Linked DNA regions of Homo sapiens: region 2 is linked to region 1. Evidence: promoter capture Hi-C in 16 types of primary human blood cells and fetal thymus (Javierre and others, 2016). All regions are on one chromosome and are shown on one strand. The core of a region is centred on a gene start or on the middle of the fragment in contact, and the rest is flanking DNA. Distances in the headings are between cores, read along the strand shown. Region 1 holds the start of SPR (sepiapterin reductase). Region 2 overlaps DYSF (dysferlin).

What was found. The method cuts DNA at HindIII sites, captures the fragments that hold promoters and counts their contacts. A CHiCAGO score of 5 or more calls a contact.
Region 2: a fragment that was not itself captured here is called in contact with the fragment with the promoter of SPR in region 1 in 1 of 17 cell types (M1 macrophages); the score reaches 5.8 in M1 macrophages.

Annotation. Positions count from the first base shown.
Region 1 is chr2:72,883,764-72,890,605 of GRCh38, forward strand. SPR (sepiapterin reductase) reads left to right here and starts at 3,645. Exons shown (of 3, transcript NM_003124.5): 1 at 3,645-3,973; 2 at 4,551-4,841. The coding sequence starts at 3,670. RefSeq lists silencers at 3,497-3,886, 4,525-4,699. The HindIII fragment of the contact is 9,789 bases long and covers 3,215-6,842 here.
Region 2 is chr2:71,521,111-71,526,032 of GRCh38, forward strand. The region is part of intron 12 of DYSF (dysferlin); the gene reads left to right. Among named protein-coding and RNA genes, the nearest start is that of DYSF, 57 kb to the left of the region's middle. The HindIII fragment of the contact is 938 bases long and covers 3,068-4,005 here.

The sequences.
Region 1 (6,842 bases), core at 2,395-4,894:
TAACTTCCATGCCATTAAAGTGATGACTGGGATGACAGAAACAGTGTCTTCATAAATGTATCCATTGAAATGTGTTTGGTGCTTCCTTTGTGTGTATCTCTCAAAAATAAGCTTTTCAAATTTGGTGAAAAGCCAAGATTGGGGGCTCAATAGTCTAGCAAATTTCTTAATGAGGAAGCCCTGCTTCTCTATCACACACCTAGTTGATTGAGTTGTGTGTCTCCCCTCCCCAACCTCTAAAGACATGTCTACTTGAATCCTGTGAATCCCAACAAGTTTCTCATCTCCATCTGAGACCACCTCAGCCTGGACCTTATTGTCCATATCACTATCAACATTTTGGTCAAAGCCATTCAACAAGCCTCTAGGAAGTTCCAAACCTTCCCACAATTTCTTATATTCTGAGCCCTCCAAACTGTTCCAACCTCTGCCTGTTACCCGGTTCCAAAGTCACTTCCACATTTTAAGGTATCATTACAGCAGTACCCCACTCTCAGTACCAATTTACTGTATTAGTCCATTTGCCCACTGCTGATAAAGACATACCTGGGGCTGGGTAATTTATAAAGAAAAAGAGGATTAATGGAATCACAGTTCCATTAATCTGTGGATTCCATTAATTAACACAGTTAATTCCATTCCATTAATTAACACAGTTCCATTAATGTCTGGGGAGGCCTTACAATCATAGTGGTAGGTGAAGGGTGAAAGGCGCATCTTACATGGCAGCAGGCAAGAGAGAGCTTGTGTAGGGGAACTCTCACTTATAAAACCATCAGATCTCATGAGACTTATTCACTATCATGAGAAGAGTATGGGAAAGACCCGCCCCCATGATTCAATTAACCTTCCACTGGGTCTCTCCCATGACACATGGGAATTGTAACACATGGGAAATATAATTCAAGATGAGATTTGGATGGGGACACAGCCAAATCATATAACCTGCCAATATTTATTATCTGTCTGTTTTATTTTAGCCATCTTAATGGATATGAAGTGGTATCTTATCGTAATTTTGATTTGTATTTCCCTGATGGCAAATTATGTTGAATATCTTTCTATGTGCTTATTGACCATTTGTGTAATTTCTTTGGATAAATGTCTGTTCATATACTTTGCTCACTTTTTCATTTTACTTTTGACTTATAAGTATGGCTTTTTTTTTTTTTTTTTTTTGAGGTGGAGTCTTGCTCTGTCACGCAGGCTGGAGTGCAGTTGTGAGATATTGGCTCACTGCAACTTCTGCCTCCTGGGTTCAAGCAATTCTCCTGCCTGAGCCTCCTGAGTAGCTGGGACTACAGGTATACGCCACCACGCTCAGCTAATTTTCATATTTTTAGTAGAGACAGGCTTTCACCATGTTGGCCAGGCTGGTCTTGAACTCCTGACCTCAGGTGATCCACCTGCCTCAGCCTCCCAAAGTATGACTCATTTCAAAAACTTTGTTATTTAGAAATAATTTCAGACTTTTACAAAGTTGCAAGAATAGTATAAAGAATTCCTGAATACTTTTAATGCAGATTTCCTAAATGTTAACATTTTACCTTTGCCTTATTCATTCTAATTTTTTTCTGAAACATTTGAAAGTAAGTTGCAGATATGATGCCCCTTTACTAAATACTTCTGTGTACTTCCAAAAACAAGAACACTCTCTGATATAACAATAGTTCACTGGTCAAAGTCAGGAAATGATTCAATGCCAATAACTAACCTACAGACCTTATTCAAATTTCACCCATTCCCCTACCCATGTCCTTTATCAGGCTTATGTTTTTAACACAATTTTTACACATTTCTTACCTTTCAGGCATTTGTATCTTTTTAAAAGAGTTACTGTTGGCCAGGTGGGGTGGCTCACACCTATAATCCCTGCACTTTGGGAGGCTGAGATGGGAGAACTGCTTGAGTCCAGTTCAAGACCACACTGGGCAACACAGCAAGAGCCATCTCTATAAAAAAACACAAAAATTAGCGAGAGCAGATAATCATCTTCCTCAGAAAAGAAGAATTTTCCAGACCCTCTCCTAGTATAGGAAAACCACGTTCTCCTTAGGGGCTGTTCCCAAGTGGTTCCTCCTAGAAGCAGCTAGGTTCAGAAGAGTCTAGGTCTGATTTTTTGCCATCCCTTCATTGTTCCCTCCTTTTCTTCAAAAATCTGGCAAATGGTAGAAATTTAACAAATGTCAAATGAATGGATGGATGGGATCGTGCTTTCATCAACCTGTCTTCTAAGGCCTGGAGAGCAGGGAGAAGCTATTAAAATTCTTTAAATAGTAAGCTGTTGGGCCAATGAGATCTTTATCTTCAGTGTGAATAGGTAAGTGAAAAGCAGGGCAACTTCAAATGGTATACACATATACAGAGTCTTATCAGCGTTAAAATACCAAAAGCTTAAAAAACAATTAGCCAGGCGTGGTGGTGCGCACCTGTAATCCTAGCTACTCAGGAGCCTGAGGTGGAAGGATTGCTTGAGCCCAAGAATTCAAGGCTGCAGTAAACTGTGATCACACCTCTGCACTTCAGTTTGGGCCACAGAGCGAGACTCTGTCAAAAAAAAGAAAAAAGAAAAGAAAAAAGCCTTCCTCCAAGTTGTTTCTTCCTTAGAGTTGGCAATAATAGTGGAAAGGCGGTAACTTTGCTGTTTAGCCCCAGGGGAGGGATCAGCCCTGTGGGGAATTGGGCTAAGTTATCAGAGGTTACTTACTGCCCTTGCTAAACTCTAAAGAGATTCGTTTTTTAAAAACTGACACACAATATTTGGACATATGTATATACACAATGGAATACCACTCGGCCACTAAGAAGGAAACCATGAAGAGATTCCTTTTTAATATATGTAGCTGCATGCCAACTTGTCTCACGTTCCTCCTCTCCTAGAAAAAAAAAAATGTGGATTTTTCTGAAGCACCTGCCTGGAGGTACAGACAGATGATTGCGCAAACTTGAAGCTGAAAGTGGATGGAATTGCTGCCAGGGAGACTGTAGCATGAGCAGGAGCAGAATCCTGGGGAACACACTTTTAGGGACAGGAGTCAGAAATCTCAGAGAAGCAGGGGTTACTGGTGGGATCACGGAGCTGCTCAGGGCCTAGTAAAAGGGAAAGGTTTTAATATCATTTGGAGCCACTGTGGTTCTCCCAGAGGAAGCTCCTGTCATCCAGAGAGCGGTGAGCTCCCAAACAAGCAGAGACTTCAATTCCTAAACAGGCATAAGCTTCATTCAGGGTGTTCACTGGCCACGACCAGGGACGCCCAGCACCCAGTGCAGGGCCTGCCCTGGAAGAGGTCAGTAGTGCAAAGTTAGGGCTGGAACTGGGAGGAAATTCGAGCATGCGTCCCAGCCGGAGGCTGAGCTTGCGGGCGAAGAACACGGCAGCGCTGGGAACCGGGCTAGGGCTTTCCGTGTGGGCCGCGCCTGCCGGCCCTCTCTGTTGTCCCACTTGGCACGGACTGGGCTACCGCCACGGTTTGACTTCCGCCACCAGCAACCAAGGGAACCAGATCCCAAGGGAACCAGCACCCCTGGGCGCTCGCGGCCCGAAGCCTGAGGTTCCCGCCCCGCCCCGGCAGGGCGGCCCCGCCGACACCCGTAGCGGTCCCGCCCCCCGCGGCCGCACCGCCTCCTGCCTGGTCTCGGGTGCCAGCGCCGCCGGCGGAGAACAGGAGCATGGAGGGCGGGCTGGGGCGTGCTGTGTGCTTGCTGACCGGGGCCTCCCGCGGCTTCGGCCGGACGCTGGCCCCGCTCCTGGCCTCGCTGCTGTCGCCCGGCTCCGTGCTTGTCCTTAGCGCCCGCAACGACGAGGCACTGCGCCAGCTGGAGGCCGAGCTGGGCGCCGAGCGGTCTGGCCTGCGCGTGGTGCGGGTGCCCGCCGACCTGGGCGCCGAGGCCGGCTTGCAGCAGCTGCTCGGCGCCCTGCGCGAGCTCCCCCGGCCCAAGGGGCTGCAGCGACTGCTGCTTATCAACAACGCGGGTAAGACCCCGGGGCTGGAGCGGACTCCCCATGTGAGCGCCCACTTCCTCCACCGCTGGGGAATTTAAGGGCTACTCCTAGGGGTCAGATAGGACGCCTAGAAATCTAAAGCCCTAGTTGTTCCAGCTTGAGTAGCAAGTGGAGGCGAGGTGTACAGGAAGACTCGGTGCCGTCGGGACAACAGTCTGCCCCCACTTCCTGGAAAATTGGCCAGCCGGGTTTTCCAAAGCGCCTGTAGAACTTTCCCGAGCCCCTTGCTCTGCGCCCTCTGGCGGAGGCCTGAGTCAGGGCTTGGAGTCTCCAAACAAGTAAACTCTCTGCTTCTCCAAAGGACCGCTAGAGCTTTCCTTCAGCCCCACGGCAAGGCAGGTGCCTTCTCATTCTGCAGCTTGGGATGGCTAGGTTCCCCAGCTGTGTCTTTCCGCAGAGCTGGGGAAGAGAGAAGCCTCTTCAGAAGCGCTAGGCAGCTTCCTCCTCTAGGTCTGCATGGGAAGAGGATATCTGGAGGAACTTGGGAGGGCTGGGGAAGAAGAAAGCCCCGCCTGCACTGAGTTACTCCTAAGGGTTGGTTTTTCAGGCTCTCTTGGGGATGTGTCCAAAGGCTTCGTGGACCTGAGTGACTCCACTCAAGTGAACAACTACTGGGCACTGAACTTGACCTCCATGCTCTGCCTGACTTCCAGCGTCCTGAAGGCCTTCCCGGACAGTCCTGGCCTCAACAGAACCGTGGTTAACATCTCGTCCCTCTGTGCCCTGCAACCTTTCAAAGGCTGGGCGCTGTACTGTGCAGGAAAGGCTGCTCGTGATATGCTGTTCCAGGTCCTGGCGCTGGAGGAACCTAATGTGAGGGTGCTGAACTATGCCCCAGGTAGGTGGGAAGTCCTGCCGTCCCTGTCCTCCAGAACCCACTGGTGCGCCTCTGGGGGCTGGGCAAGCGGCCTAGTCCGCCCCCTCCAGGAAACAACCCACAGGATTTTGTCCTTGAATCTTGACCCATCACCCCTTAGGGGAAATACAGACCCAGGGGAAATAGAGGTGGCAGGGGCCGGGGATACTGGTAGAGAGTGAGGAGTTTCCTGGACTGGAGGGTGGGGCAGGAAGGTCTGAGGTATTAGATGGAGTTTGGGAGAAGACTGGGGTTTGAGTTCCAGGCCTTCCTCATGTGAAATGGGGAAGACGCTCCCTGCCTCACAGGGCACTTGGGAAGACTGAATGAGATACTGTATGTGAAAATGACCCTGACCTGTGAAGTGTTGCCTCATTGTTAAATAGGACTGACCACACTGTATTGTCTGCATATGTTTGCTTGCCTCCTTCCCTCCCTTGACAGGAAAGCCTTTGCACTATGCAGATGTGTGTTCCTAACACCTAGCAAAGCACTACACTAAGGCAAGCTGCAGGACATGCTAGCTGTATGGAGAGCAGACAGACTTTGTTGAGTGCTGACCATCCCTGGCTGAACTGTGCTGGAACACTATTGAGGATTCTGGGATAAATAGAATAGATCCCTTGCTCTCATGAACGCCAAAGGACAGGGAGTCTTGTGATACTGGGTCTAGTTTCTGATGCCACAGCGCCCCTGTCTTAATAGTGAGGAGTCTCTTTTAGGCTTGAGGTTGCTGCAATCAGAAGGTGGTGACAGAGCAGCCATGGAAAGCCTGAGCAACTTGGGCAGAAATCCAGTAGCCTGTGTCCCTGGGGAATAGGGTCAGGCTCCCAGGGCAGACAGGTAGAATGGCCTGCACAAAGCACAGATGTGGCAGGGCTGGATCCCACCTTGCTTTCAAGTTCTTCCTCATGTTCTCCAGTACCCCAGCCCCTACCACCCCTGCCCCCCAACACACATGCACAATTATTCTCACAACCAACATTCAACTCATCATCCACTCTGAATTCAGCCCAAGGATTCGCACAAACAACAGTGACCAAATGTAAGCTACAACCAGGAGCAGAGCAGACTCCAGAAGTCCACATGGCTGCGTTTGGTCTCAGGAGGCTGCCCTGGGCATTATGAGGGAGCTGAGATTTTCAGGAGGTCCCCAGGGCCTGAACCAAGGCAGAGGCCAGTCTGGTTTTCATTTCGGTCTCAGGAAGAATGTTCTAACAGGTGCTCAGAGATGGAATGGGCTGTTTGGAAAGGCAGCAAGTCCTCTCTCAGCAGGGATGCACAGGTCATTGGAAAATAGTCAAGGACCAGGAGATAAATTCTCCCTCCAACCCTGGAATTCTCTGATGTTCTGCCCTCGAGGACCATTAACTGCAAATATTGGGGTGCATGAGTGATTCCTATGTGAAGAATAGAACGTGCTTGCAACAGTTCAAGAAGGGAACAATTCCTTTAGGTGGGGAGACTAGAGATGGCTTTATTGGAGGTAGCTGAACTGGACATTGACCTTGGTTGTTGGCAGATGGAAGGCATTCCTGATGAAAGGAAATAAAGGTGCGAAGGCTCACTGTGGGCGTGGCAGGTCTTCAGTTTGCCTGTAGAGTAGGTGTGCCCAGAGGAGGGCAGACTAGGATGCCTTGAGTATTAGGCCAGGCTACTGGGAAGCTGTTGAGGGGTTTTGAGCGGAGGAATGTTGTGATCCCAGTGATGTTTTTGTTTGTTTATTTGTTTGTTTGTTGAGATGGAGTCTCACTCTGTTGCCTAGGCTGGAGTGCAGTGGCACGATCTCGGCCACTGCAAGCTCCACCTCCCAGGTTCACGCCATTCTCCTGCCTCAGCCTCCCGAGTAGCTGGGACTACAAGCGCCCGCCACCACACCCGGCTAATTTTTTGTATTTTTAGAAGAGATGGGATTTCACCATGTTAGCCAGGATGGTCTCAATCTCCTGACCTCATGATCTGCCCGCCTCGGCCTCCCAAAGT
Region 2 (4,922 bases), core at 2,287-4,786, 1.4 Mb before region 1:
ATCCTACCACTCCGAGAGAGCTATTATTGTCTCATTGCACATCCCTCTGGAAGGATATATGCACATATTTTCTTTTTGCAACAGTGAGATTATTCTATATATATTATATTGTGACTTGAATTTCATGGCCTAAGAATGTATCATGCTCATCTCCACATGTCAGTAAGTAAAGTTATAAGTTGGAGGTGGTAAGAATGAGAAAAATGTTGAGAGCAGGAGAGGTATCTGCATCTTTCTATGTTTGAGAAGAGGAGAAAAGGTTTGGAATCATCTTTGTGGGAGAGGAGTGAGGGGTTAGATTTAATGAAAGGATTTCTGTACAAACACCAGAGCACCCACTCTGGGTTGGACGCTTTGTTTGTAGTGGAGCCACTTGCCTCATGGTGCTCAGCAGCGCAGAAGCAGAAGAGAGGCAGGTGGGTGGTGGACGTGTTGGGTGAGGGCAAGCCAGGAGTGCTGAAGGTCAGGGGTGAGGTGAAGGTCAGGGGTGAGGTACCTGAATATGGCTGATGGCTTTGTGCAGGGAGGGAGAGGAGGACAGGGCCCCTGGGGTCTCCTGCCATGCCTCGTGTCTCCCCCATCCTCACCACACACTGGCTCCTTGGCCACCTGGACGTGCTGCTTGGATGAATGTGGGTTTCTACTTCTCCACTTAGCTGGGCCCCGGGTGCTGTCCGCCTCTTCCTTTACCTGGGTATAGTTTACTCCTTATCTAATTCTCCTCATCTCCTTACTCCTTATCTCTCCTGGCTGTTCCCAGACTTTCTTCCCTTTCCTAAGCTCCAACCTCAGCTTCCCTTGGAGAGGCAGAGCTGCACAGCGATGAGTGGTGAGAGCTCTGGGAGCTCCTGTGGTCCTCAACTTGCCCCCCATCTTCATCCACCTTCCCTCCCTTCCTCCGCCCCTCCCGCTGCATTATCCCACCACCTCCTTGGCCATGACTTCACATCCTCCACTGTCTTCTTTAGCCTCCTCTTTCTGGTCTCTTCTCACACTTGTCTCCTCTGCCTCCTTCTCCATGATCTGTACCAGGCTCAAGATTTCCCCATCCTAAAACACCCCTTCCTTGACCCATTTCTCCCCACCCCTCCTCTCCACTACTATTTTCTCTCTCTCCTACTGCTGGTCATCACCAACTTTTGAAAGGGTGCACTGCATCCCCCTTTTTCCACTCCATTGCCAGCTGCTCATTCCTTCTCCTCTTCAGTAGGAATCCCACCACCTCCCCTCCCTGAAGCCACTGGTGTAAGGGTCACTCATTACCATAGCTTAGGAGCTCTCCTCTGTTGTTAGACTGCACCACTGCTCCATAGCGTTCGATTCTGGAGCCCACGCCTTATTTGAAACTGTCTCCTCCCTTAGTATTCATGACTCTCCTTGCTCCTTTTCCAGTGGGTTCTTCAAATTCGATGTTGCAGTTCAGTCCCTGTTCCCTTGCTGTGTCCTGCCCGTCACTGTTGAGGAGTCCGTCTCTTTCAGACACCACCTGAGACTTGTAAATTGCTCTTCTCCAGCCTGGATCTTCTGAGCTCTGGACGCTCAGTTTCAGTTGCCTTGTCATCAGGCCACATTAACATGTCCCTTAGGCCCCTCTAACTTATTATAGTAAATCTAACTTATTATAGCAAAGCCTGTATCATTTGCTGCCCACTCCCCACACCTGTTCCCCATCCCGTATTAGGTGACATCTTAGGAAATTGCATGATTATCCACTTAGTCCCCCAAACCAGAGGCCAGAGTTTCATTCTTTACCCCTCAATCCCCATGCAAGCAGTTGGCCAGTCTTGTTGGTGGAAAACCTCAGTGTACGCCTCTTCTTTTTCCCATCCCAAGACAGGAGTTTGAGGTCCAGCTCCCACTCTCTCTCACTTGGGTCTCTTTGTGAATTACAATATAGGTTCAGCTGGTGTAACAAAGATGCCCCAAATAATAGGCATTAAGGAGGACAGAGGTTTATTTCTCTCTCATGAATGCCACAGTCCAGAATTGGCACAGTGCTTCGGCAATGATCAGAGACCCAGGCTCCTGGTCTTTTCTCCACTGTGATCATCATGCAGCCTCCGTCACATGGCCCAAGATGGTTGCTCCAGTTCCCATCACCATGTCTGTATTCCAGCCAGGGAAATGGGAGTAAAGGACAATGGAGGCCACATCTCTTCCTTCAAAGGCATGATCCAGAAGTTGTACACATTTATGCTTAGGTCCCATTGACAAGAACTTAGTCACATGGCCACATCTAACTACGAGGGAGCCTGGGAAATAAAGTCCATCCTAATGCTGTCCAGCTAAAAATTGAGGGTTTGTTAGGGGAGGCAGAAAAGACTGGATTTGGGGGAACAACTAGCAGTCTCTGCCATCCATCCTAAGTGTCCTCTGAGGTCTCCTAACTTCTTACGTTATACTTCACCTATCCCCACCTTATCACCAGTCATCTTTTTTTTTTTTTTTTTTTTTGAGAAAGAATCTTGCTCTGTCACCCAGGCTGGAGTGCCATGGTGCAATCTCGGCTCACTGCAACCTCCGCCTCCCGAGTTCAAGTGATTCTCCTGCCTCAGCCTCCTGAGTAGCTGGGATTACAAGCGTGCGCCACCATATCCAGCTAATTTTTGTATTTTTAGTAGAGACGGGGTTTCACCATGTTGGTCAGGCTGGTCTCAAACTCCTGACCTTGTGATCCACTCGCCTCGGCCTCCCAAAGTGCTGAAATTACAGGCGTGAGCCACTGCGCCTGGCCGCCAGTCATCACTTTTAAACCCAGGTAGAATCACGCGTGTCTCCTCTTACAAAACCTCCAGTGACTTCCCACTGCTTTTAGGATAGAGTCCAAGATCCTTAGCATGACATTCAAGGCCCTTGACATTTGCCCTCAGCCTAGTTTCCCAATCCCACTTGCTGTTATGTATCTTCATGGGCCCCGTCTGTGGCCACACCAGATGATGTGACTCTTTCCAGAATGCTCTTCCATCCCTCTCTAGCCTTTTCCCCTGCTGGAATGCCTTCCCTCTCTTTGCCTACCAAGAGCCAATTTGTTCTTCCAGACCCAGTTCAGATGCTACTTCCTCCCTGAAGCTTGCCTCGTCTTCCAGGAAAATGTATTGGTCTTTCCTTTGGGCCACCACCCAGCCCTTTGGTAGTCTAATCAGTTTATGTGTCTGTCTTCATCACTGAGATTCAGTTTCTTGATGATGGGGACAATATAGCAAATGTGATATCTTTTATCTCCCCTCTTGCCTAGTACGGCAGGTCTTGTACACAGTAGGTGCTCAGTCAGTGCTTATTGTCTAGGGGAATAGACATTTTTATGGATGCCTGAAAGATGATTGTTTTCTTCTGATATGAGCTGAGGAGAATAAACGCAGAACACATCCCTTTGGGCATGCTGTGATATGGGCATTCTGGGATTGAGGGTTTTGCAGCAAGGATCCTGAAGCAGGTTTCTACGTGTCAAGTGTGACTGAGTGAGAAATGGGGTGAGGCTAGTCCAGGCAACTGTCCAAGGAGTTGGCTGCTGGGCACAGCCTGACCTTGCTATTCTCCTGTCCCTTCGCTGCTCGCTAGCCCAAGAGCAGCCACCAGATCTTTTGTCTGTTCCTCCAGCTGCCGACTTCCCCATGTGCAAGGGCCTCTGCATGAGTTGCCTCCTCGTCTGGATGCCTCCACCTGTTGCTCATCATCCAGGTCTCAAGCTGGGAAGCATTTCTGACCCCACCTCAGTATAGTTACAAGCCCCCTTGCTCTGTGCTCTCCAAGCACGTGGGTTCTGCTTCCAGCCTGTGTTACACCTCAGCTTTCTTATCTGTAAAGTGGGGGCATTCTAGGTCTTACACCCAGAGCAACATCTGTGGGCAAGCAGCGTGGGCATCACTTGGACACTTTTTGAAATGCAGAATCTTGGGCCCCACCCCACACCTGCTGAACTAGAACCTGCATTTTAATTGGAATGCACAGCAGTGGTCTAGAAGACATTGATTCTCAGCCTCTGTTGCTAGTTGGAATCATCTGGGAAGCTTTACAAGCCACTGCTGCATGGGTACTCTCTCCCAGAAATTCTGTTTTAATTGGTCTAGGGTGTGACCTGGGTTTCCCAGGTGAGTCTTTTCTTTTCCTTTTTTGTTTTTGAGATGGTGGGGGCGGGGGGCGGTCTCACTTTGTTGCCCAGGCTGGAGTGCAGTGGTGCAATCTTGGCTCACTGCAACCTCTGCTTCCCAGGTTCAAGCAATTCTCCCATCTCAGCCTCTGAGTAGCTGGGACTACAGGTGCATGCCACCATGCCTGGCTAATTTTTGTATTATTTGGTAGAGACAGGGTTTCCCCATGTTAGCGAGCTGGTCTTGAACTCCTGACCTCAGGTGATCCGCCTGCCTCGGCCTCCCAGAGTGCTAGGATTACAGGTGCGAGCCACGGCGCCCAGGCTTCCCCAGGTGTTTCTAATGTGCCGCCAAGTTTGAGACCCATTCAAGGGAGGGGTGCTATGAGGATTAAATGAGAGAGTGCATACACATCAATGCATGTGGGATGTGATTTTTGTTATTACTGTTCCAACCACAAGACACAGTACATGTTATTGGATTCGTTTGCTGAAAGTGTTTTCCCTGCATGATAGTCAGCTCCATGGGAACAGGGTGCTTATTCATGTCATCCCCTTATTCATTGCCATATCCCCTGCCCTTCAGCACCATACAGACACCTAGTACTCACTCAGTAGCTAATGGCTGGGTGAATGAACACCTGCATGTTATTAAAGACAGAGTGGCCAGCTTAGACCTCAGTTACTACTGTACTATGTTTTAACCGGGAGGTGGGGGAGAGCGGGAAGGAGACTGAGGTTGGTGGAATGCTTGCTGTGTGCCACGTGCATTTACATCATTACTGGAGATGTTCCTCGCACAGTCCTGGAAGGTCAGTATCATGGTCTCTGCTGT